7 separate regions of the Homo sapiens genome follow, and regions 1, 2, 4, 5, 6 and 7 are each linked to region 3. The links are contacts of gene promoters, found by promoter capture Hi-C in blood cells and fetal thymus (Javierre and others, 2016). All regions are on one chromosome and are shown on one strand. The core of a region is centred on a gene start or on the middle of the fragment in contact, and the rest is flanking DNA. Distances in the headings are between cores, read along the strand shown. Region 1 overlaps SRBD1 (S1 RNA binding domain 1). Region 2 overlaps SRBD1 (S1 RNA binding domain 1). Region 3 holds the start of SIX2 (SIX homeobox 2). Region 4 overlaps SRBD1 (S1 RNA binding domain 1). Region 5 overlaps SRBD1 (S1 RNA binding domain 1). Region 6 has its middle 99 kb from the start of LINC01121. Region 7 overlaps SRBD1 (S1 RNA binding domain 1).

The links. The method cuts DNA at HindIII sites, captures the fragments that hold promoters and counts their contacts. A CHiCAGO score of 5 or more calls a contact.
Region 1: a fragment that was not itself captured here is called in contact with the fragment with the promoter of SIX2 in region 3 in 1 of 17 cell types (megakaryocytes); the score reaches 5.7 in megakaryocytes.
Region 2: a contact is called between a fragment that was not itself captured here and the fragment with the promoter of SIX2 in region 3, in 1 of 17 cell types (M0 macrophages). The highest score is 5.6, in M0 macrophages.
Region 4: a fragment that was not itself captured here is called in contact with the fragment with the promoter of SIX2 in region 3 in 9 of 17 cell types (endothelial precursors, fetal thymus, M1 macrophages and 6 more); the score reaches 17.8 in endothelial precursors.
Region 5: a contact is called between a fragment that was not itself captured here and the fragment with the promoter of SIX2 in region 3, in 7 of 17 cell types (endothelial precursors, M0 macrophages, erythroblasts and 4 more). The highest score is 11.9, in endothelial precursors.
Region 6: a fragment that was not itself captured here is called in contact with the fragment with the promoter of SIX2 in region 3 in 1 of 17 cell types (endothelial precursors); the score reaches 5.2 in endothelial precursors.
Region 7: a contact is called between a fragment that was not itself captured here and the fragment with the promoter of SIX2 in region 3, in 5 of 17 cell types (endothelial precursors, megakaryocytes, erythroblasts and 2 more). The highest score is 9.2, in endothelial precursors.

The regions. Positions count from the first base shown.
Region 1 is chr2:45,388,463-45,391,802 of GRCh38, forward strand. SRBD1 (S1 RNA binding domain 1) reads right to left here. Exons shown (of 21, transcript NM_018079.5): 21 at 218-1,137. The coding sequence ends at 848. Among named protein-coding and RNA genes, the nearest start is that of LINC01121, 140 kb to the left of the region's middle. The HindIII fragment of the contact is 814 bases long and covers 1,520-2,333 here.
Region 2 is chr2:45,415,071-45,418,457 of GRCh38, forward strand. SRBD1 (S1 RNA binding domain 1) reads right to left here. Exons shown (of 21, transcript NM_018079.5): 18 at 3,295-3,387. Among named protein-coding and RNA genes, the nearest start is that of LINC01121, 160 kb to the left of the region's middle. The HindIII fragment of the contact is 1,224 bases long and covers 1,371-2,594 here.
Region 3 is chr2:45,007,742-45,011,374 of GRCh38, forward strand. SIX2 (SIX homeobox 2) reads right to left here and starts at 1,711. Exons shown (of 2, transcript NM_016932.5): 1 at 810-1,711. The coding sequence starts at 1,369. RefSeq lists enhancers at 406-1,179, 2,184-2,783. The HindIII fragment of the contact is 4,145 bases long and covers 1-3,578 here.
Region 4 is chr2:45,489,353-45,492,869 of GRCh38, forward strand. All of the region lies in intron 14 of SRBD1 (S1 RNA binding domain 1), which reads right to left. Among named protein-coding and RNA genes, the nearest start is that of SRBD1, 120 kb to the right of the region's middle. The HindIII fragment of the contact is 1,398 bases long and covers 810-2,207 here.
Region 5 is chr2:45,509,415-45,513,084 of GRCh38, forward strand. All of the region lies in intron 14 of SRBD1 (S1 RNA binding domain 1), which reads right to left. Among named protein-coding and RNA genes, the nearest start is that of SRBD1, 100 kb to the right of the region's middle. RefSeq lists a silencer at 1,556-1,850. The HindIII fragment of the contact is 1,612 bases long and covers 767-2,378 here.
Region 6 is chr2:45,351,738-45,355,295 of GRCh38, forward strand. No RefSeq gene overlaps it. Among named protein-coding and RNA genes, the nearest start is that of LINC01121, 99 kb to the left of the region's middle. The HindIII fragment of the contact is 2,049 bases long and covers 269-2,317 here.
Region 7 is chr2:45,453,267-45,457,012 of GRCh38, forward strand. The region is part of intron 16 of SRBD1 (S1 RNA binding domain 1); the gene reads right to left. Among named protein-coding and RNA genes, the nearest start is that of SRBD1, 160 kb to the right of the region's middle. The HindIII fragment of the contact is 1,220 bases long and covers 1,652-2,871 here.

The DNA of each region.
Region 1 (3,340 bases), core at 677-3,176, 380 kb after region 3:
CCTGATCTATATTTGATCTTTAAAACGGCCATTTCTATCCCCATTTGAAGTTTAATTCTGATTTAAGAAAGGACACACTCTTCTATGCTAAATCAAACAAAACCATTCTTCAAATTTTCAAAGGCTTCCCTCTTCTCCAAAGGTTGCATAAACCATATCTTTTTTCATCAAGACTGACTTCTAGGTCATTCACTGAATCAACATAGCAAAAAACAAGTCACTAGCCACAAACATTTATTGTTGGGGTCAATACGTATATCCTTTTGAGAAGTGTTTCGAGCCATTCATTTGATAACTACAAACACGTCAGAATCTGTTTTACTGGTATATTTTTGGCTTGCATGACAAGGGAAAAGAGATTATTGCAAAATTATGAATGAAGTCCAAAAGGCCTGATTAAAAAAAAATCTATAAAATGGAAGGATTAAACACTGCCCAGCCCTACTGTGTCAACAAAGACGGTACAATTCAAATCAAGAAGACAATCCCATACAAGTCCAGCAAGGCAGATGTTGGCAAGTAGAAGTTAAGCAATCTGTTATACAAAATGCAAAAGGAGTTAAAGATAAATTACAAAAAATAAAAAACAAAATTTTAGTCAGAAAACTATTACTACATAAAGCCATATAAGAATGTGTATTAGTTGTTTCCTTTAAGGGAAAAGGAAATCAAACTGTTGGTTTTCTATTTATTCAGAAGAAAAAATAAAGGAAAGTGTTTGGAAAATATTTCTGATATTAAGTGAATTATTTCTCATCTGCTACCTAGAGTTTACAAACAACTGACTTATCCTTGTCAATCTGTGGAAATGAGAAAATAAAATCAGCGTCTGGCCTTCGTGGGATACTCATAACACCCGAATGAGGTCCAGAGTAATCCTAGATCGGGGGATGTCAATGTTGAGTACTTGGACTTCCACTCTTTCTCCGGGGCCCAGTCCAAGGCTTCTTCTCTTCTTTGTTTTTGAAAGTTTTGCTTCTGTTACATTTCGTATGGGAATCAGCCCAGATTTCCCCACTCCTATATCCACAAAAATTCCAAAGAGAGTGGCATTCTCAACTTTGCCTGTAAGAACTGTCCCAATCTGCAGATCTTCCAGGCATACTATGCTTCTCTTGAAATCAGGTTTATCAAAATCTGTAAGAGAAAAAAAGTAAGTGTAAATAAGGCATTGTACTTCCTAGATACAACATAACTTTGTGAATAAGTACTTACTACATACTATGTGCCCAGACCAATATTAAAGATTAAGGGGGGATTATAAAAGGAGCTGCAGACCAACGCTTGCCTTCAGAGAACATGCATATCAGTTGGAGACAGCATTCATGCAGTAGAAACAATTCAAGAAAATTTACTTCCTTCTACAATGCTACACACTAGCATTATACATAAGGATCGAGAAGACAGTCTTATTTTCCTCTTTGTGAAGAGGTGATGAGAATATATATTTGCTTAACAAATATACAAAGCTAAACCACAAACACTGAGAAAGTAAGACCTTTGGAAACAAGAGACTGGAAGCTTTTTTTTTGGTTTTTCCCCCAGTGCCTGGATTATTAAATTGTTTAAAGATGGTAGAAAGTACATCAACTTTTGGCCAAATGTGGATGAAATTCAAATGTTCTTTCTTCCTCACTTCTTCCCACAAATTTGGAACTCAGAAAATCAATTCCCACCTATTTCATATATATTTATCCAATCAACATTTATGGATTCTTGATTATCTATGGCTCAGAATCCCAGACCAGGTAGTATCTAATATTCTTTCTCTTCTTTCAATTAAATTCATCAAACATTTGTTAACTCTATTATCTCCTGGCCAGGCACTCTGCTGGGTGCTAGAGAAACAATGATGAAGATACAGATTTCTGTTTCCAAGTTCTTTATAGCCCTTTTTTCTTGCTCACCCCAGCATACATTTCTTTGTTCATTATTGTCCAAAAGGTAGGCATAAAGCATGCCAAGGAATCATTATGGTTCTAGTTAAAAACAAAGGTTTTTATGAGGGAGACAGTTAGAGTTAGAACTAACAGTTTAAACGGGGCTGTGGATTATCTGTGGACTCCATTTATCCATGCTCCTCCTGAAGGCCCCCTTTCCTAGGATTACTGAGTGTTGACTCTAATAACAAAGAACACATTCTATGCTTGGATCTCCTTTTACTAAGGCCTCATTTTCCCCTCCACCCATTCCATTTCCTTTTCCTCCACAGCTGTTGGCTTTATCCTGATGACTTGTTAAAGCTATCCTTTACATTTGTATTAACAACTGGTCACCCCTTTCTTCCCTTCCCCCAGTCCAACCATACTGATACCAAGACGTTTTAAAAATTAAGCTTTTTCTTATAAAACAAAATAAAAACCTTCTTTAAACTCCAAATCTCACTGTACACATAAAAATGAGTACGCTAAAATTGGAATTGATTCTGTGGAATTTTACCTGATGCTAAAGCAGTGAATTCCAAAAGCAAGAAACCTACTGTAATGTAATATTACACCAGGCTAAGGCTGTGTCAAAGCAAAGTGGAACTAAGTCACTGATCAGGGGCAGAGGTAGGACGGGTCTCCGAGACCCCATAGGCATTGTTTTTATGCTTGGAAATTCTTTCTCTCTCTCTCTTTTCTTGGGGAGGTCCAGCTGCTGCAGATTCCCTAAGGGTTCCTGATCAGCTGTTTAGTTTAATCTTGCAAGGAAAATCAGAGTCAGGAACTACTTAACATATTCCTGAAGACAGTTGGGGACACTGAGAAATCAGAAAATCCTCTGTGTACCATGCAAACTTTAACACTTTCATAGCCAAGCATTTTCAGCCCCTGTGTCTGGACTGCTTCTAATAAACCCAGTTAGGGAAATTAACTAGTCACCATAGTGTTAATACACATGAAATTAATTACACCATTGACAAAACAAAAGACAGAATTATTATGAGTAAAGAATGAGGCATTAAGAAAGGAAATACTTTTGAGAAAATGGAGAAAAGAGATGTAACATAAAATATCATCACGTGGAAATGCCCAAAATACTATCTGCCCCCTCGAAAGTATAGTTTGTAAGCCTTCCTCACCTTGGGTATGTGTTTAGTAGTAAGATGAAAGTTCTCAGACATTTTGAAAATTGTGACTTACATTAGAGCAAAGGTCAGTTCCAAAGTTTTTTTAAAGAGACCTATTTAAAACTTCACTTGCCACACTGATAGAACACTGCAGTAAGTGGAAAGCTCAGTCCAGAGCCCAGATGCATCTGTCTTTTTGCTCAACAACTTGGTAGTTTAATTGGACCATATAATTTGAGTGTTGATCTTTGCTCTGAGTCTACAATGCAACTGGGATAATGGAACAAT
Region 2 (3,387 bases), core at 733-3,232, 410 kb after region 3:
ATAGTATGTATATACACACATATAGTGTGTATATAGTATGTATATACACACATATAGTGTGTATATAGTATGTATATACACACATATAGTGTGTATATAGTATGTATATACACACATATAGTGTGTATATAGTATGTATATACACACATATAGTGTGTATATAGTATGTATATACACACATATAGTGTGTATATAGTATGTATATACACACATATAGTGTGTATATAGTATGTATATACACACATATAGTGTGTATATAGTATGTATATACACACATATAGTGTGTATATAGTATGTATATACACACATATAGTGTGTATATAGTATGTATATACACACATATAGTGTGTATATGTGTATATACACACATTTAAAAAACAAAAATATACATCTATAAGAATATATTTTATATATATGGAGGAGTGTGTATATATAGTGTGTATGTGTATATGTATATACACACGTATATACACATGCATATAGTCTGTATACGTATATATAGGTTAAAAAACAAAAATATACATAAAATATTTTTATATATGTATAAAATATATAGAGAGAGTGAGAGAAAAGGAGGGGAGGGGAGGGGAGGGGAGGGGAGGGGAGGGGAGGGGACGGGAGAGGAGAGGAGAGGAGAGGAGAGGAGAGGAGAGGAGAGGAGAGGAGACGAGAGGAGACGAGAGGAGAGGAGAGGAGAGGAGAGGAGAGGAGAGGAGAGGAGAGGAGAGGAGAGGAGAGGAGAGGAGAGGAGTCTGAAACTAAAATCCCAGATCATCTTATCATGGGAGGCAGAGAGAGTTGAAGAGAGAAAGATTGGGAAGGATCCTGTTTCTAGTCTTCTCTAAGAGGACAGACACCTATTAACTCCAGAGGTCAGTCCAAAACCAATTTAAGGATGATCATAAGAATAGAAGATGTACAACTTTGAAATCACTAAGGAGAGATAAAGATGAGATGGGAAAACAAGGAGAGAAACAGAAAACTTATTAACTGATAAATCTAATAAATAGCGTAAAAGGAAAAGAAGAATCAGAAAGCATGATGGAGGGGCAAAATACGTAGGAAGAATAAGCCCAAACATATAAATAAATACAACAAATATGAATGTATTAATAACAGATTGAGTAAAACCACAAAATCTAGCTATGTGTTTCTAAGAGCCATATCAAAAATTAAATGTCATAGAAAGTATAAAAATTAAAAAAAACAGGCATATACAGTAACATTGCTAGCAAATAAATTTCAAAGCAAAAAACATTAAATGTGGTAGCAATATTCCATTCTGAATAAACCTATAGTTCATGAGATGTAACAGTCACAAATCTTCAAGTACCTAATTATCAGCTGGAAAAGTACAAGGCTTTAAAATAAGCTTCATCAATAAGACACTGATTAGACTAAATTACAGCCCATCCATACAATTAAATTTTATGCAGACAATATAAAGAATAAAAAATTAGAAATCTATATGTAATAATTTGGAAAGAGATCCAGAAGACTGAAACAAATAAAGCAAGTTTCAAATAGTTGCAGAGCCTGATCCCTTGTGTATACATTTTTAAAATAATAAACATATACATACAAGGTGACATAACTGTAAATTTACTTTCTGGAAGCAACATATAAGAAACTTTTTCAAGTGAGACTTGAGAGGCATCTTTTACTTTTTGTTCTTTTTTTATACTGTGAGTTTTTTGGTGTTTTTTTGGTTTGCTTGTTTTTGAGACAGATAGGATCTTGTTCTGTCGCCCAGGCTGGAGTGCAGCGGCATGATCTCGGCTCACTGCAACCTCCACCTCCTGGGTTCAGGCAATTCTCCTGTCTCAGCCTCCTGGGTAGCTGGGATTACAGGTGAGCACCACCATGCTCAGCTAATTTTTGTATTTTTAGTAGAGACGGGGTTTCACCATGTTAGCCAGGCTGGTCACAAACTCCTGGCCTCAGGTGAACGACGGCTCCTGGCCTATGCTGTGAGTTTTCTAACCAAGTGTTCAAAGAACATATAAACTAACAAAAACAGAATCATTTTATCTTCAATTTTTTTCAATTGTGACTTCTAGGTTTCATGATCTATTTAGAAAGAATTTCCATCACTCTAATGCTCTGCAAGATTTCCCCATGTTTTCTTCTGGTGCTTTTACAGTTTTTTACTTTTTTTGACATTTAAGTCTATGATAAATCTGTAATTTATCTGGGTATAGGAGTGAGAAGTGGGACTACAGCTTCCTTCACACATATTGAATTACTGGCAGTTGTCATAATATCATTTGTTAGATAATTAATCAATTTTACCCTACCATTTGAAATGTCACCTTTACCACAAACTAAATTCTAACCATGTTTTGGTGGATTTCAGACCTTATTCTGTGCTATTCCTACATCAAAAGCAAACTGTTTAATTTCCACAGCTTTATAATGTATTCTAGTGAGGCTTAATCAGTCTTTTCCAGAAGAAAGGTTATCTTCCATATGACCTCTATTATAATTTTGTCAAAATTATAAAGTCCATATGAATTAACCACGTAGTCCCAAAGTAGCAGATACGTAAATGTTCTTCTTTCATGATTATATCATGCTAAGAAGTTTATCTAACAAGCTTTTGTGCTTTCAGGATTAGAAAATAAAGAAATTTAGCTCTTGATCCACACAACTGATAATCAATGCTTTGGTCCATTTTCAGTGAGGAGGGAGTGGGGAAACATATCTATGCTTAGGGAACAGCTATGTCAGTATAAAGTGGTCATTTTGAAGTCACCATTGTCACCTCATCTTGTACCAGTCCTTCCCATTTGCTATGCCCTAATTGTGTGGGCCTTTGCCTCATTTCCTGAATACACCAAAGTTGGTCCTGCCTTAGGACTGTGCACACTTAGTGTTCACTTTGCCTGGAATGCTCTCTTTCTGATCCTTGGATGGCATTTCATTCAAAACTCTGCTCAAATAAGTTTTCAAAAAATAACGAATCTAAAGTAGTTGTATTACTCTCCTAAGACAGTGTCACATATCCCTGCTTTAATTTTTATAGCACTTCTTGCCATCTGAAAGTACTAATTTTACTAGTTTGCTTATTGTCTGTGTCACATGTTAAAATATAACTCCATGAGAATCCGGAATTTGCTGACTTGCTCACTGTTGTATTCCCAATGCCTACCAAAGGACAGTCACTCAACACTTAACTGAATGAAGGCATGAACAATGGACACTTAGAAAATTTTACACTAATCAGTGGTAGGATAGGTAACAGTAACAAGAGAGGAGGTTGACAATAGAATCAAAGTGTATACTTATACTCACCTGCAAAACGTTCGGATATAATCCTGGTTGATTCTGATGAAGCCAGCACACTGTTGGAAGGATTTTGGGCCCAGCCCTTTCACTTTCTTCAGC
Region 3 (3,633 bases), core at 461-2,960:
AAGGGCCTAATGATCAACCTTTAGGCTGGTTCAGGAAGTCCTGGTTTACCTGAGGACATCCAACTCCCAGCCCCTCTGTGCCTCTCAGCTCACCGCAGACATTCCGACCTACCCATCAGAGGTAGGGCCTAAGGAGAGAGGCATCAAGGGCCTGGAGTGCCAGGGAAGGGCGGCTATCTCTAGCAAGGCAGAAAACAGGGCATGCGTCTCTTCTCTCCCAGAACTGACACTTCCTCCCTTTCACCTCTGGATCCTTTCTAAGGAGATAAAGGACCCGCTCTCAACTCCATGTGACAACGAAAATTCATGGCCTGGCTTTTCCCCATCCAGGTCATTCTAGGGAAGTTCCAGCCCCAGTCCCGACCCCATCACACTTTGGCCTGGAGCTAAGGCTGGGGGGAAATGCCGGGAAGCACCACCAGCAAGAAATCTGCAAATCCCCTTTCATCTGGGCTCAAACCCCTCTGTCCTGAGGATGACCAGACCTACTGTGCCTGCCTCACAGGGGATACAGGCCCACAGTTCTGCGCTGCCCCGAAGCTCTCTGCTTCTCCACCCTTTTCCTCTAGCGACCGAGTAGTTAGTTGACAACTTCCTGAATTGCTCTGCCCGCTTTAGACAAATCCCTGCTCGCCGGGTCTCCGGCATAGAAAGGCCTAAGCATCGTCCAAGTCAGGCCGGGCTGCCGCTGGGCTGTGGCCGGGCCTGGGGGCCCAGTTTAGGCCTCTCCGGGGGACCGGCAGAAGCCCTGCGAACCCCTCCCTTGGGCCCCGGGGAGCTGGCGCCGAAGAAGGTCTACTTACTCGTACCTTTCCTTGGCCTCGGCCGCCCGGTCGCGCTGCCGCCGGTTCTTGAACCAGTTGCTGACCTGTGTGGTGGTGAGGCCCGTGGCCTCCGCCAGCTCACGCTTCTCGCGGGGTGAAGGGTAGGGGTTGTGCGCGTACCACTCGCGCAGCACGCTGCGACTCTTTTCCTTGAAGCAGTAGCTGGTCTCCTCGCCGTCCCAGATGGAGCGCGGCAGCGGGAATTTGCGGCGCACGCGGTATTTGCCCACGGCGCCCAGGGGTCGGCCGCGCAGCTTCTCCGCCTCGATGTAGTGTGCCTTGAGCCACAGCTGCTGCAGCTTGGCGTGGTTGTGCGGCGAGAACTGGTGGCTCTCCAGGATCTTGTAGAGCTCGCGGAAGTTGCCGCGGTGGAAGGCCACCACGGCCTTGGCCTTGAGCACGCTTTCATTCTTGTGAAGGTGCTCGCAGGCGGGCAGCGACCACAGGAAGCGGCCCAGCCGCTCGATGTTGCCGCCCTGCTGCAGCACCTCGCACACGCACGCCACTTGCTCCTGCGTGAAGCCGAAGGTGGGCAGCATGGACATGGTGCCGGCTGCGTCCCCGCCCGCCCGCGCGCGCCCTCACCGGGCCGCGCGGTCCCGCATGGGAGCTTCCTCGCCGGGCCGTCCGGGCCGAGACGCGGGCGGGGCTGGCCCCCTGGCCCGGCACTGGCCCCCGGTGAGCCCCGAGTCACTGCCGTACGTCCCCGCGCCGGCCGCGGGTCCCACGAAGCTCCGAACCCCAACGGCCCGCGCGCCTGGCCCAAGCCCTCGCCCAAGCCCGGGGGCCGCCCGGGGCGCCGCTCCGCATGCTCCGCGCCCGCCCGCCGTTCCCTCGCTCGCTTCTCACTCGTTCTCCCTCCCGTCTAGCTGGCTCTCAGCTTTCTTAATAATATTATTCTAAGCGGGCATGAGGCGCGGCGGCCCGCGCCCTGATTGGTCCGGTTATCTGACCCGGGGCCTGCCAGCGCCAGACAATAGTCGGAGTCAAATTATTCGCCATGGAGACGCTGTCAGTCACTGGTAACCCGAGCCTCGGCGGGCCGGGCGGCTCCCCCCGGCCGGCTCCGCTGACAGATCGCCCCGCTCCGCGCAGAACTGAGGGCGGCTCTACTGGAGCCTGGGGCGCTCTGAGAGCCTGGGAGGCGGAGAGGGGCCGGGTTGGGGCCGGCGGCGGCGGAGATTGACGGGGCGGATGCCCAAAGAGGGAGGGAGGAGGAGGACAGGAGAGCGGGGGGAGCGGGCGAAGACGAAAAGGGGTGGATCGAGGTGGGGAGAGAAGAGGAGAGAAGGGAAGGCGGAGACCGTTTAAGGGGGTGTCCAGGAGGAAGGGGAGGGAGAGGGGTGGAAGGAGACTCCAGGGGAAGAAAGTTTGGGCAGCTTTGGCTAGGAGAGGGCTCTGCAGCCTCGCCCAGACCCTACAGGGTTCCCCTTCTCCCCAGGTCACCGCGTCCCTCCCAGGCTCTCTGTTCACCGGGCACATTCTACCCCGGCGCAGGCCAGTGGGATGGGAGAGTTTGGACGTGCTCGGGTGCCGCCCAAAGACTTGGCTTTTTCTGCTGACAGCGCCCCACCCCCATCCTAGAAACTCTGGACTCAGCGGTCCTCGAGGGAAAAGGGGAGGGAGTAGACGAAAGAAATGGGGAAGATTTGGCAGTGGCCGCAGGCGGACGCCGGAGAATCGACTTCCCGGAGGATCCCGCCTTTCCTCCCTCTCCTAGCCCCGCCGGCTGCCTGGCGGCCTGTACCGCCCCAACTCTGCGCTCTCTGCTCCTCGCCGGGCGGGGACTCAGACTTAACCCCACGGGTCCCACAGCCCGAGGAGCGCCAGGCAGTTCCGTGTGGCCTCTATGGAAGCTGACTCCGGCCGGCAGCTGCGACGCAGAACCCCGGACGGCGCAGACCCGCAGTCTGCCCACCGGGGCGGGGGAGAGGGGCGACGGCAGGGACTCTAGGACGGTGGTGGGGCTTCCCCGGTGGGTGGTCGGGGAGGAGAACGGAGGCAAGATTCCCAGTCCTCCCGCTTCGCCGCTGGGGATCGGCTCGGCTCCTGGCCACTCCAGCCTGGGAACCGGCTCGCTGAGCTCCGGGATGAGGTGCTTTAAAAGGGGGTCCTGTTTTTTGCTTCTTTGTCAGGGTGCCAATGGAAACATGTGGTGCTGGTCCTGTGGGAGAAGGGCTCGCACAAAGGTGGGAGAACTGAGGATGGGTGTGTTCTTGCTCTACGTTTTGAAAAGCCCGGGGCTTAGCTCCTTCCCGGACATGTCCTTTCCACTTCCTTCAGTTTCCTCCTCTTCCCCCCTCAGCTGCTGCAGGCCAGGAGCTCCTAGGGCCATACTCAGTGCCTGACCCAAGCCAGCACAAATCCTGGGCTCTGCCCTCAGCCAGTCTAGGGCTATGGAACCCGAGTCTAGGCCAGTTCCTTCTTTCCCACCCTTTTATGCTTTCTATGGAGTTTGTGCTAGGAGCGCGGAATGGGAGTCTAGAGCCCTGGGTTCAACTTTTGGTTTTGCTTGGTGTCTATGGTAAGGCATATATTTATGCCTTTGTGTTTATTTCCTTCTCTGCAAGATTTCAAAAATTTTCCCTGTGCTGCAGCATTCCGGAAGTCCTTTGGGAGTGTTGTAGGCATGAGAGAATGGAACCCTGGGACTCCTCTTAAGACTTTAGCTTCCAGGGGCCTACCCTGGCATGTTGAATGAGGCCACAGGGCTGACAAAGTAGGTCCCAAGCCAGTGCGGGTGCAGAAAGGGGAAGCTTTCTGCAGAAATCCAGGTGGCATCTTTAGAGTCTGTATCTGTGGGCTGGGA
Region 4 (3,517 bases), core at 259-2,758, 480 kb after region 3:
TGTAACGTACTGCCCCACTGTAACAACTGAACATTGAGAAGTAAAATGTGGAAAAGTTAGTTTGCTATCCCCATCTTTGGAGAATTCTTGAATAAATTTTTATGACAAATGTAAGCCACCACAACTTGAGAAGATTATTCTGGGGAATGTGACAACTTCTCTTTCTGCAACCAAGATCTACTCTCTTAAATTTAAATAGAAAAAAATAAACACTACAACTGAAAAGCAAGGCTGCTTATCCTGTTTTTCATCATCACCATCATCATGATACAATAACAGCTGAGTGCATATTATACACAAAGCAAAAAAACACTTTACAGACATTATCTCATTTAATGGAGTAGGTTCCATTTTGGGGATAAGTAGTATGCCCAAGATCATATAGCTGGAAAGGAACTGAGTTAGATTTGGACCCTAACCTGCTTGATTTCCAAGTCTGAGCCCTTAACCAGCACAACCAGGTAACCCTTAAATAGTTTCTCAAACTCTCAATAAAATGAGAACTCATATTTTTGTGCCAAACAACCAACGCAACATATTTTTCTAAGGAAGAGCTACTTTCTCAAACAAAAGATCTAGAAGAACTCGTATCTCTCTTCCTTTGCCTTTTTCTTTGATCAAAAGGTAAAGTGAATTGTTTACTTATCTAAAGCAGAACTTGAGGACATACAGGAGTCAAATACGTTCCATAACTTCAGAGACCAGCTTCAAAATTAAAAGGTAATACTGCATTTTCTCCAAAATAACATTTACATTACGCTTATCTTCTAATAATATAATGATCAAGGAGAAAATGTAATGTTAAATAAAGCTTGTAGTGAAGAAAATGTAGTGTTACATAATAATGTGATGTTAAAACTAAATTAAGAAGTGATTTTTTCAGTTCCATTATAGTGGCATTTCCTAACCAGGGGCCCTTGGACTATTGGGCAGGAAGAGGCAGGATTAATCAGAACTGCATGTAAAATGTTTGTGTTTATATAAATTTTCCCCCAAGGAAAGCTGGTTCTAGCATTCATTGATTACTTAAATTCGTGACCCCCAAAAAGGTTAAGAAACACTACTACAGGATAAGAATATTTAGCCACCACCTATGGAAAATTCATTTTTAAATACAAATCAACATTCAATCTAACAAAGTCTTTTCTAAAAAGACAGAGTATCCATGAAGTACAGGCTAGACCTATTATTAAGAGAAAAGAATATTTTTGTAAATCTCACCACAGATTTATTTTCTATCATTTCCAGAAGCCTCCAAAGTTACAACTATTTAAATAAAAGGAACTTAAATGGTAAATAAAAATTCCAATTAACTGTGGTTGTTAGCAACTGGGTACCTGAGAATTTGCTGGGCTTTTGGAGGTTATAATTTTCAATAGACTGAGGGAAACTATTGCAAAGAAAAACACTCAGATAATAAATATTCCTCCAAATACCATACTGCCATTTCTTTTAAACAGAGGAATACAAAACAGATGTGACACATTGCACCCAAAGATTGTGGATTAACATTAATATTAAATCAATACAAAATGTAGTAAATTTCATATGCTTTACTTACTGAAGAGTATGTGTCTAATACACAGTTCAGTGCTCAGCATAGATCAGAAATCTTAAATAACCTAAATGCACAGAAAAACCTCAACATTGATTACTTCAATATAAAACATGTAAGGACTGAAGAAGTATATGTGACTAGAATTAATGAAACAAATCAAACTGGGAGTGATGATTTTTTTCCAGACATTGCTAAGAACAAAAGTTTTAATACCCTCCCTTTTTCATTCCTATTTAAGAGTTCAAGAATAGACACTTGCCAAAAGTACACTAAATTTACGAAAACACTTTCTGTTTGATGGGAAATTTTCCAATAAACTATTGGGAAATTATTCCAATTATCTCTAATATATTTTGAAGAAAGCAAAAATGAACTTTATATAAAATTCATATATCTAACGATTTAATATTACATTTCACAAAACAAATTTCTCAGCAGTACAAACAAATTAGCCTCAAAATCCTAGCAATTTGATTATTTTATGTATTTTGCCATGAAGCAGATGACTGAGCAGAATTTATCATCTGGGGGGATTTTAACTGCCACAGTTGTAATTCAACTAATTATTTATAGATTATTACAGTACTCAGAAGGCCCTTCAAATTGCTATAGTTTAGACCTTCACCTAAACCAATACATTAGTATTTCAAGCTTTAGATATAAGAAAGTACACTTCAGAAGCTAGCATTGAATTTACATTTTACCAGATCTAAAAGTTAATATGCCAATTCTCTATAATTAAATTGATAATTTAAGATATTTTATTTAAGCACTATTTTTAGGATTTTTATTTTAAGGAAACAAACCACACACTTATAAAGTAAAAAGCAAGTAAAGTACCTACAATATCAACGCATTCACTTTCAAATTTTTTAACAAAAACCCTATTGAGTTAAAAATGCTGCTTTATTTAATTAATTTATTTTTTTGAGACAGAGTCTCACTCTGTCGCCCAGGCTGGAATGCAATGGCGCAATCTCGGCTCACTATTACCTCCGCCTCCCAGGTTCAAGAGATTCTCCTGCCTCAGCCTCCCGAGTAGCTAGGATTATAGGTGCCCACCATCATGCCCAGCTAATTTTTGTATTTTTAATAGAGACGGGGTTTTGCCGTGTTGGTCAGGCTGATCAGAACTCCCAACCTCGGGTGATCCACCTGCCTCAGCCTCCCAAAGGGCTGGGATCACAGGCGTGAGCCACTACGCCCAGTACAAAAATGCTAAGTTTTATCTTAGGTAAAATTCAATGGTGTTACTTACAAAAAGCTAATCATTAATCAATATAATTTGTTTTCTGTATAAAAGATATACGTTTAAATAACAGAATTGATATCTCTACAGTTTACAAGTCTTTTCTACCATGACAGATTGTATGTTGATGAACCGTTTAAAACTAGGTTTTCAAAAAACTTTTCTTACAGTGACTATTCATTCTGACCATAAGGAATGTTATTATCATTATTATATTTTGCCAAATTGAGATGGGAAGGTGAGATTATTTTCATGAGAAAGAAAAACTAGGTTTTTTCTGTTGTTGTTGTTGTTTTTGAGACAGAGTCTCGTTCTGTCGCCCAGGCTGGAGTGCAGTGGCGCCATCTCCGCTCACTGCAAGCTCCACCTCCCGGGTTCACACCATTCTCCTGCCTCAGCCTCCCAAGTAGCTGGGACTACAGGCGCCCGCCACCACACCTGGCTAATTTTTTGTATTTTGTAGTAGAGACGGGGTTTCACCATGTTAGCCACGATGGTCTCGATCTCCTGACCTCGTGATCCGCCTGCCTCGGCCTCCCAAAGTGCTGGGATTACAGGCGCAAGCCACTGCGCCCAGCCAAAACTATTTTTTTTTTTAAATTACTGGGCTAACAGTTTTCACCTTCATTTACAAGATTTCATGAAGACTCTGCATGAATCTCTTTTCTTCCCATTTCCCAAATATGAAAATAACTTGGTTTTTCTGATTT
Region 5 (3,670 bases), core at 323-2,822, 500 kb after region 3:
TGAAACCCCATCTCTACTAAAAATACAAAAAATTAGCCGGGCGCGGTGGTGGGCGCCTGCAGTCCCAGCTACACGGGAGGCTGAGGCAGGAGAATGGCGTGAACCCAGGAGGCGGAGCTGGCAGTGAGCAGAGATTGCACCACTGCACTCCAGCCTGGAGGACACAGCAAGACTCCGTCTCAAAACACACACACACACACACACACACACACACACACACACACACACACACGCAAAGAAGAAACTAAAGGTCATATTTTCCCTTTCTTCCAATCTACTCCCCAGGCTTAGAAACCAGGTTTGTCTCCAGATATTTTTCTTTTTCCTTTTTCTCTTTTAAGACAGGGTCTCACTCTGCTGCCCAGGCTGGAGTGCAGTGGCGCAGTCTCAGCTCACTATAGCCTTGTATTCTTGGGCTCAAGTGATCCTCCCATCTCAGCCTCCTGAGTAGCTGGGATTACAGGCGTGTGCCACCATGTCCATCTAATTTTTAAATATTCAGTAGAGACAAGGTCTCACTACGTTGCCCAGGCTGGTCTCAAACTCCTGAGCTCAAGTGATCCTCTCACCTTGGCCTCCCAAAATGTTGGGATTACAGATGTGAGCCACCATGCCCAGCTAGATATTTTTTCAAACACCTATTTCATTTCTAGTTTGGCTATTTAAATATCCCCCCAAATACTTGGAGAAACACAGATTTCTAAGATAATTTTTCAGAAACAAATTAGCACGCATGTTTATGTGTGTATATACTCTACTTGTTTAAAGCTTTAACTTCATTATTTAAAAATGTAAGTTTTCTGTTATATAGAGATATACACACAAACACACAAAGAACCTGTAACTAAAATTAGTCTTATTCTACCATTTTCAAGTGTGGGAAGGGATATTTTTAAAACAAAGAGTACTTTTTGAGTTAGAAAGATGTAGACTATAATACAATTAAAGGATAAAGGAGCATACAATTCACACATTTTACACCTAAATTTATTGTCCTTCTGGAAAGCTATGTTTTTCTCACAAAGATTAGAATTTACTGCATTACCCTCTAAAATACAGAAAAATCTTTCCACTGTGTTAGACTATTTTAGGTGAGGCTCCTATGAAAAAAACAGCCAAGCAGCTTGAACTATCACATTAAATGGATCACAGGGTTTATAAAGTGCTGTTTCAAAGGCATTCCCCACACTAAGTATCACAAACAGCAAGAGAAGACTCCACTTCAGGCCCAAGACTAAAATCGTTTCCCTGAATTGTTTCTTGTCAAATTAAAATGTCAAAAATTATTCTATCAAATTCTGTCCCTAAGGATTCTAGCTCAATCCAAAGAGTAGCTACCAATTAGTAAAGTCGGGCCTTTTAACAGTACAAGAAATTTTTTTTCTATTGATATGTAAAATTAGCAGGTTCCAAAAAGAAAAGTTTCATCTCAGCAGTTAGGTTAAGTGCTACTGATAGCTATAATCACATGCAGGCTGCAACTCCTTTTTGAAAGGCTTTTCAAATGAACAAATACAAAGAAAAAAAGAGAAGCACAAGTGTTTTCATAGTGAATGACTGCCTAGGATTATAGTTATAAAAAGCCAAGGTTAGAGATCCAGATATCCATGAGTATTGCGAACCAACAAACCAAAGTCAAACGAAATCCTTGCTCCCTCTTTTGACAAGGTCAGTGCACCCATCCCTTAGCACAATAACCGACTGAATTGCAGGCTGTACAAGGTGCTCCAGGAAAATAAAATCTACCACCAATCATTTAACGTTTTTCTATTGCTTTGGATGAGCAAATAAAATCCTCTAAGAAAAACATTTCCTGTTCACTTTGTTGTTTCGCCAAAGCTGCGTATCTTCGGAAACTGACTTGTTAGCAGTATCCGTTCATTAGCAGCATAAATATGCAGATGTAATAAGATGTTCTTGGCAGCAAATCATACTGTATCTTTTTCACTTGCCACTCCAGATGAATTTTTATAGTACATTTATAATTTATCCACAGAAGTAAGAGTCATGTTCATCTACCAGAAAGAGCTATGAGTGTTCATGAACTTCCCCCAAAAAGTTCTAAAACTTTATGTCAAGGAATAGAAATACAAATAACAGGAAAAACATGCTCACATATAAGACCGTTTACATGAGGCAGGTACTTAAGTTGCCTAAGTTTACGGTTTGGCAAAAATCATCAAATGACCTGTGGCTACTAGAGTGATCAAAGTTTCAATTTTAACTGTGGCGAGAAACAATGTTATCGGCAAAAATTCAATGGTATATATTCCCATGCATATATTCCTTCTGCACTTTTCATAAGAAGCCTCTTAGACTTGAATTATCAAATACTTCCCAGTGCTGACGCTTTTTAAAGTCTCCATTCCCAGATACCAAGCTTTTTGGCATTGTGGCTAAGCAGTGACAAACAGATCATTTCCTATTGATTCTACTTACCTCATCAAGACTGCTAGAATCCAGTTATGTAAAGAATTATTTTCAACAGCCACCTTCAATTACAAATGTATGACATGATCACAGACTTCCAATGCTAATCTCCTTTCTAGTTGAAATACCCACACAAGAGCCCTTTGAGACACACAGCATGGCTACGTGATTTGCTTTGCTTTATCCTGCAAAGAGGCTGAAATACACTGGAATCTTCTCTTCTCCATAGTTAATGCAATACACATCTTTTATGCAAAGTGGTATGCAGACCAACATGCTTTTGTCAAGATATGAGTCTTGCCAAAGGGATTTTCTTGGTTAAAACACTATTTCTCTAACTTGAGCTTCTAAACCTGAAGGCTGCTTAAAGAAAAGGAAAGAAAATCTTCATGTAATTGACTATCATTTCTCCAAGTGTTTTACCTATAGACCATACTTCCTTAGTTTACATACATTTGCATGACTTGAATACTACATCTGTAACTTCAGAGTCCTATTGGAACCACAATTCTGGACTTAGAAACTTTCAGCCTAGTTTACTGAGAATACGCATCACTTACCCAATGAAAAGAAAAACTGAATCTATGAAGGATAATCCTATCAACATACTAAATTGTACTTATCTGTTGAAGAGATACTTTTAAATTCCAAAAAATAACAATTTTCTGGCACACTAAATTCAGGCATTTACACCAAGGGCAAATATCGAACTCTACTATTTCCATGTGACAACCAACTAGGGCTTTGAACAGAAAGACAATCATTGTGCTTTACGTGTAGGAGGATTCATGAAAATCTTAAACTGAATTTTTATAAGTCAAAATCCATTTTAAATGCAACAAAGAGCTCACCAGCTAAAGGAACTACAAAGTTAAATTTTTACATTGCCAAAGATTCACTGGTAAAGTGCTGATTATCCCTTATTTTATGAACTTTTAACTTATGATTGTATGTTTGGAATTTGTGTAAGTGAATATTTTTCTTTATGCCTGTATTATTCCTAGGCTAGTCATGGAAATATGGACCTCCAAATTCTGTTAGAGAAAAAAAAGGTCTGTCCCCTTTAACCTACTAAGGGAAGTAGAAAGAGACACAAACCTCATGCTGAGAAGGACCAAGCAAGCACACAATAAACACACAAATTACCCCCAGAACACATGCCCCTCTGACAACAGAAAGCAAAATCAAAAAGCAAGAAATCAAGCTCTACTTTGCTGTCAAATGCTCTACCCCTGAGCTA
Region 6 (3,558 bases), core at 43-2,542, 340 kb after region 3:
TTCCTCCAAATTGTAGTGATGCTTGACGTTCCTCAGTTTAAGTGGCAAATTTATGCAATCGGGAAGCATTCTGCAGAAGCAATTGTTGCAGTGAACAAAAAGAGAATTCCAGCTGTTTCAGGTCAATAAAACAAAACAGAACAAAAAACTTACAAAAACCAGGGGACAGGGAAGGGAGATGAAATGAGGATGGAAATGGTAATAAAGAGATTCACTTCCATAATAAGTAACTGGCAAAATATTTGAAATGTATTTATGTATATTTAAAAGCTTCATACCACTACTTGGAAGGTTATCCTGCATGGGAAACCTGTGATAGAAACTGATCGCGTTTTCTCTGAATGACTTTATTGTAAAAAAAAATGTACATTCTTAATGAGGCAAGGGAAGGCGGGAGGATGGACCACAGCAAGAAGGAAGGCAGAGCATCCTGAGGAGTTTGGAGTAGGATTTTATGCAAATCTAATCAGTTAACAAATCAAATCACAATTATTTAACCCATTATCACTGGTCCAGAGTAATGCCAGGCATATTATTCTTATCAACCCCTCACCCTGTCAAGCCCAGGAAAAAATACGTGTGTTTACTTTTATTATTATGCATCCTGTGATGAGCGCCACAGTTGCTAAGTGCATGCAGCACCTTTAACTAAAGAAACTAATTGCAAGCCACTTTCAATATCTCTTGTTTTTTAATTTAATGTCCTCAGAGAGATATAATTGGGCTGGAGGGAAGAATTTTCACTGAAGTCATGAATTTGCTATATAAATACAAACAAGAAAGAAAGCTAATACAGTAAGGGAATATGGGATTAATTTTGAAATTGTCTGATTAGTGGATTGCTGCCCATCAATAATTGCCTTATATTTTCCCAAGGCCCTCTCTTTATTGGAGTCTGGCACCGCATCTGCCCACAGTCTGTCAATCAGCCTGTGCAGCTGGGAGGGTCTGGGGAGACCACAATTGGAAGCCTGCTGGGGCACCTTGTTAGACAAAGCAATATATCCCAGACGTGAAAACACTCCCATCTCAACTCAGCTGCTAACATCTTTACACTCAATCCTCCTGCCTTGGAGCAGGACCTCAATGTGACTAAGTCTGATTTTTAAAAAGGAAAAGAAAAAGTCACAACTGCCTGTTTACATGTATTTTACAGGCCTGGGCTCTACTGGAATTGGAGGTCAGAAACACCTTCCCCCTTGCAGTCGCTAAGTTGCCTAGTAACATCCTTGAGAAGAGCTCTGCAACAGCTGGAATTTTTAAAGCAACATCGGCGTCATGGGGGACACCTAAACACGCTTCAGACATTTAAAAATTAAGAAATATGATCAGAAGGGCTATGAGCAAGTGTGCAGATGGTGGGTTTCTAGCTTAATCAATGCCTAAGATCTGGAATGTTCCTTAAGCTCCAAGAACATTTCCCATCTATCCTCCCCAGGCCTGGTGCTCCCAGGTCCTTAAAGACATGATCACAGAGAAGATAGGAGGGTCTGTTGACTGAACTCACCATAAACATCTTTTCAAACCACATGCACACACACACACACACACACACACACACACACACACACACACACACAAAGCTGCAGCCCTGCTAATGATATGTTTATGCCATGCCCATTTCCAGAAATATTTATTTCTCTCTACCTTGCCAGCAATCAGTCAAAATACACAAAAATGGATTTGCATGTAAAGATGCTTCATTTAGAAGACCAAAAATATGATAATAGAACAAAGATGGCCCAGAGCATGCTTTTTTGTTTTGTTTTCTTATCTTCTACTGTTTTCCTTTTCTGTTTGGTAAGCTGAGCATTTGTTTTAAATTGGGATTTTGTCCTTGTGAGGTAGGAAATAAAATGATCTGGAGCCAAGGTACCTAAACATGAGTTTATTAGTGTCAACCAAAAAGTGACTGAGGCAGATGTCAATTGATTTAGAGGCTGATTTGGCCAAGGTTGAGGATGCACCCAGGAAAGAGACACATGGGTCCCAGTAGGATCTGTGTCCTGCGCTTTTTCCAAAGAGGGTTTTGAGGACTTTGATATTTAAAGAGGAGAGGGAGAAGGAAGTGGAGGAGGAAAGGAAAAAAAGGCGAGAGGGCAGGCAATGAGGCAAGTGGTCACATTCTTGTGAGGCTCTGATTGGCACTCAGTAAAGCTACATTTTACATGTGAGAAGAACGGAGTGGTGGGGAAGTCAAGCATGCATTCCTATCTTGCTCAGTAGATCTACATTCTACATGAGATAAAGTAAACATATAAAACTACAGCTGTTTGGGAACAGAAGGAAGGTAGCTTTTTGCATGACTCAGTTCCCAAGCTTAACTTTCCCTTTGATATAGTGAGTTTGGGATCCTGAGATTTTATTTTCCTTTCACATTAGTCATTGAAAGGCAATTTCCTTTCCTCATCACAGGGGCAGAGGTCTAAAGGACAGAGCTAGCTGCAATCCAGGCCTGCGTGGTAAGAAAGCCAGCCCCTGGAACACTGAATGGCTCACATCCATGTTCACCACAGAAACCTTAGGAATCATCCATTCCTTCCTTCTACTTTCCATTTGGTTTTCAGCCTTGAAGTTGGTCACACCTTCCTCCAGTGTGTCTTCCTCCTGTGTGACTAACGAGAGCAGGTGCTGGTGCTTGGAGCACTAAAATCACCCCTGGTTGGCCAGGTGCGGTGGCTCACGCCTGTAATCCCAACACTTTGGGAGGCCAAGGCAGGTGGATCACGAGGTCAGGAGATCGGGACCGTCCTGGCTAACACGGTAAAACCCCATCTCTACTAAAAACACAAAAAATTAACCCAGCGTGGTGGTGGGCGCCTGTAGTCCCAGCTACTTGGGAGGCTGAGGCAGGAGAATCACTTGAACCCAGGAGGCGAAGGTTGCAGTGAGCCAAGATTGCGCCACTGCACTCCAGCCTGGGCGATAGAGTGAGAGTCCATCTCAAAAATAAATAAATAAATAAAATCACCCCAGGTGGACAGCTCAGTGCCCCGGGGTACACACTTACTGTGGCCTTGCCAATTAGCAGGCCTGGGGCCAGTCTGACATTGTACATCTCCTGTTGGGAGAGAACATGAATATTTAAATCAGAGTTGTTGTGAAGCTTAAGAGATAGAAGGCAGGTGGAAACACATTTTCAGCTCTAGTCTAGAGCGTTCTGTCAAAGTAAGGTGATTTTTTTTATTACTAATTCTTTTCATGACTGGTCATAAGAGTGTTATCAAGGCAGCCGCCTTGGCTGTTTGCTTTGCTTTGGGTGAGTGGGCAGCCACCAGCTTAGGTCACAGGTCCATGGGACTTGTACTTACAATAATGAACTTCCCAGGTGCTGGGCTTGTGGCCCCAGGATGAAGGAGTCTTCCCTGCCTCTGTTTCTCTTTTCAAATATGCTGCCCTTCTAAGGCCTGTCAGACATTGGGCCACTTCTCACTCTGGCTTAAAGGAAATCACAATTTCTTTTCCTTACGAGTTCAAACCTCCAGAAGAGCAAAGCAGCGGCAGGCAAAGTCCTTCTCTCCAGGTACCAAGTTGGCTTTTGGGACCTCTGTAGTGTGT
Region 7 (3,746 bases), core at 1,012-3,511, 450 kb after region 3:
GGAAAAAAAAAAAAAAGAAAGAAAAGAAAAGAAAAAGGAAAGAAAGACTCCACTAGAATGCTTGTCAATCATGACAGACTCCTTGGTGGCCCCTCCAGAGTTAAGCACTTTTATTAGCTAGAACAGTCTATTTCTCTCCATTCCTTAAGTACTTTTTTCCACATTATAGTATACAGAAAATACAATAATGTCAAAATAAATTTAAGTTTGTTATTAACAAACAAATTACATTACTTTTAATCACTCCAGGGAAGAAATCACTAAATTTAACTTCATTCTGTTTACATACATGGAGAGAAAAAATGTAAAACATGTTGAGAGTTCCTATAAATTTGGTAAATATTAAAACTCAAAAAAAAATAGCTTCTAACTAGTGTTCCTTTCTTATAAAAATTACAAACTTAAATGTGGTAGTGATGTTTATTGCAAAGAGGTTCTTTCTGTTTTTGTTTTTAATCTTCACTGCAAATCTGATGAAAAACAAAACTCAGAAATTACTCCTCTAATATATACAGAGAGAGACTAGAGAAAAAGTTCTGGGTTAACATACAAATATAAAATAATTTGGAGACAAAACATTCTTTTTAAAGATTCTTCTGCTCATTTTCCTCTTCTGATAAGCAACTTTAGTAGGACAAATGTGGCAATTCGTCCACTGCAATTAACATAAATCTCCAGTTCATTTTAAACCTATCAAAATGTGAGTATTAAATTATTCCAACATTCTTATATACACAGTCTTTCGAAGCAGAGTTCTTACAGGTCAGATTGAAGACAGCCTCAAACTATGAATGGTGCTACAAAAGGAAAAAGCGTTATCTAGCAGGATCTATTAGCCAAAGACTAATGTACAGCCCTAACAGAAGCATAAAAGCAGGATATTACAATGTGGTATTCCCTATCTTGCCTAAGATTTTATTTGAATTTCTAGTAAAAGCAAAAATGTAATCCAATTTACCCCATTGTCAATGTGTAAGATCGTGGTACTGTGAGATAATGACTGGGAGCATGATTCACTTTGAAAGACCTGGGAGAGTTTTGTCAATCTCAGGTGGTGGTAAATTGCCATTTTATCTTTCTATATATCACCTTAATTTAATTATTCCCTTTGTGAGTAGAAGTGTAAACTTATTTAAATTTAGTGTTTTGAAAGAACAGTGTGGAATATAATACAAATTAATAGTTGTACATTTCTTTAGGTACAAATTTACTTTTCCACCCAACGGCACTGTGAAGGACTCCATTGAATAGTAACATGTTATAAAACATCAATCTAATTGTCCAACAAATATCAGCAGTTTGCAAACCCCACTTTTACCACACTTTAGGGAGCAATTTAGGAATAATTATGATTACTTACACTCTGCTTGCAGGTAAAAAATAAAGTCTTATTGACCAAACTCAAGCGATAGTCTGCTCTAAGTTCCTCAGAGTTCTTACAATGCACGAACATTTGTTTGTCTACTTCTCACAAACAGCACGGTTTTTCATGTGTCACAATCATTCAGCAAATTATGAACATTGTTATATCTTAACATTATAAATTTTTAAAAAGCACATTCATATTTCTATCACAAAATCTTGTTTCTATTCTAATTTGAATCAACAGAATAATCACAGAAAGTAAGAAGTAAAAAATTTTACTTCTCCAAGCTTTGTTTCTTGAATCCATAATTTTTATATATTTTAACAAAGTTTTCCTTTGCCAGTTTTGGGTAAATATTATGTAGCTCAAATTTAGCATCTCTTTTCTCCACACTCTTAAAATCTCCTTGTGTACACCCACCACACACACAATTCCTCTACACTTCTTAGTTTGCTATAAAATGTTTTTCTAAGATATTCATTTTGACACAAAAGTTAATGAAGGACATGACAAACTCTTTTCATTTAAATTTAATTTTTAAGAGAATATATTCTGAAATTAAATGCAGATTAATATTAGTAAATTTCTATAAGGGTGAATTTACTTTTCCACTTCAAAACCAGAATAAAGTAAACCAGTTCATTTCAGAAAGAAGGCAGAAGCATTTTTTAAAAACTGTGTAAGAATGTATGCAGCATTATCATACGTATTTATATGTAATCGTATTGCAGGTATGTGATAGTAGATTTAGGAATAGAGTTTTTAGAATAATCATCACCTGGGCTGCCTAAATTATTTTTGAAAGACTGCTTTCCCTTAAACCTGACTGTACAACAATCTATATTTAGGTCAGAGCAAAAACATAAATGTGCGTAACTTGACATGTGTAATCTTTTCATTTTGTCTGATGATGATAAAGAGGAAAGCCATTATCCTAACTCTGAAGGCCACTCAGAGGGAAACCCTCTGAAGCATAGGGAAGGGGACTTCCCTGTCACCCCCCTTCTGATAGGGATAACAAGCAAACATTTTCTCCCTGACACAACTTTGCAATGTATGTAGTTAGTTAAATCCTGCGAGTACAGATTTTTTTAAAGTTGACTTTAACAATAAATAGTAACCAAAAAATAAAAAATAAAAAAATAACAGTGGTGATTTTGTGTTCTAGTAGTACTTTTACCCTGGAATTAAACAGCAAATTTTCTTTCCAAAAGAGCATGTCACTGCTAACCCTGTGCATTTTTGAAAGCTATTGCCACAAAGACACATTTATAAAATAAGCCCCACTTGTTAAAACTGTAACATTGCCACCATCACTACAGTTTCACCTTAGTGACTTAAATAAATATACATAAAGTAATAAACACTATATGTTTTATAGAGTTCTGTGAACCAGAAAAAAAAAATCACCTTACTAAATAACCTCCTGGCAAATGCAAAAGAAAAGCTAAATTTGGTTTGCTCATATTTTCTGAGTCCCCAGAATATAAAAAGCAGTGGGGGAAAGCTTGTTTAACTGAAAGACTTCTGCTTATTTCATTTTCCACACTGGCCTTTCTGGAAAGTAAGGGGAAAAAAAGTATTAAACAGGAAAGAATGAAACAATTAGAAAACGGCAATCAATATATTCTATGTTTTAAGATGACCTTGATAGAAATTTTTCTGCTGACCGAGGTGAGAGACTGAAAATAAGCTCTGTAAGAATCAGACAGGATGGCCTGCTATCCCAGGTGGTCAAATGTCCAGCAAGTAAGTTAACCCTTTTGTTTTCTTGACAGTTAAGTGATGGTAAAAAAAACTTTCCATGCTACTGCTGTTAGATGGTTCTCATGTCAAATGTTTATTCAGAATTGAGGGACAGAAAATATTAATGGCTACTGTCATATAACCAATGTTAAAAAATATATTGTTTCAGACTTGCTAATACATAATGGGCATTTTGTAAAGTTTGAGTATAATTTTCGAGTCATCACCTGGATGCTATCAATAACAACAACACTTATTTTAAATAGCCCCAAATTACATACAGTTGAGTAAATTTTAATTTGTTTTCATTTAAGGTCTTCTAAAGTTGAGGCCAGCATGCTGAAGAAAAATATTAAACTATCTATAACCCTGTGTCAACATATGATGCTACTGGGAATGCTAAGTGAATTAATTTTCCAAGGAAAATTAATTACTTATGACTTACAGTTGTAAAAGCAAACAACGTAACTCTGGATTAGGGCACGTTTAATTTCTGTTTGTAGTAGCGATTAAATTAATTTCATTTAATTCATGGTATGTAATGGAAAGCAGAACAAAAATGAAATTCCAGACAATGGCTGACATAGAAAATGTATATATTTATGAAGCCGATCCAAAAATAAAGGTCATGGAT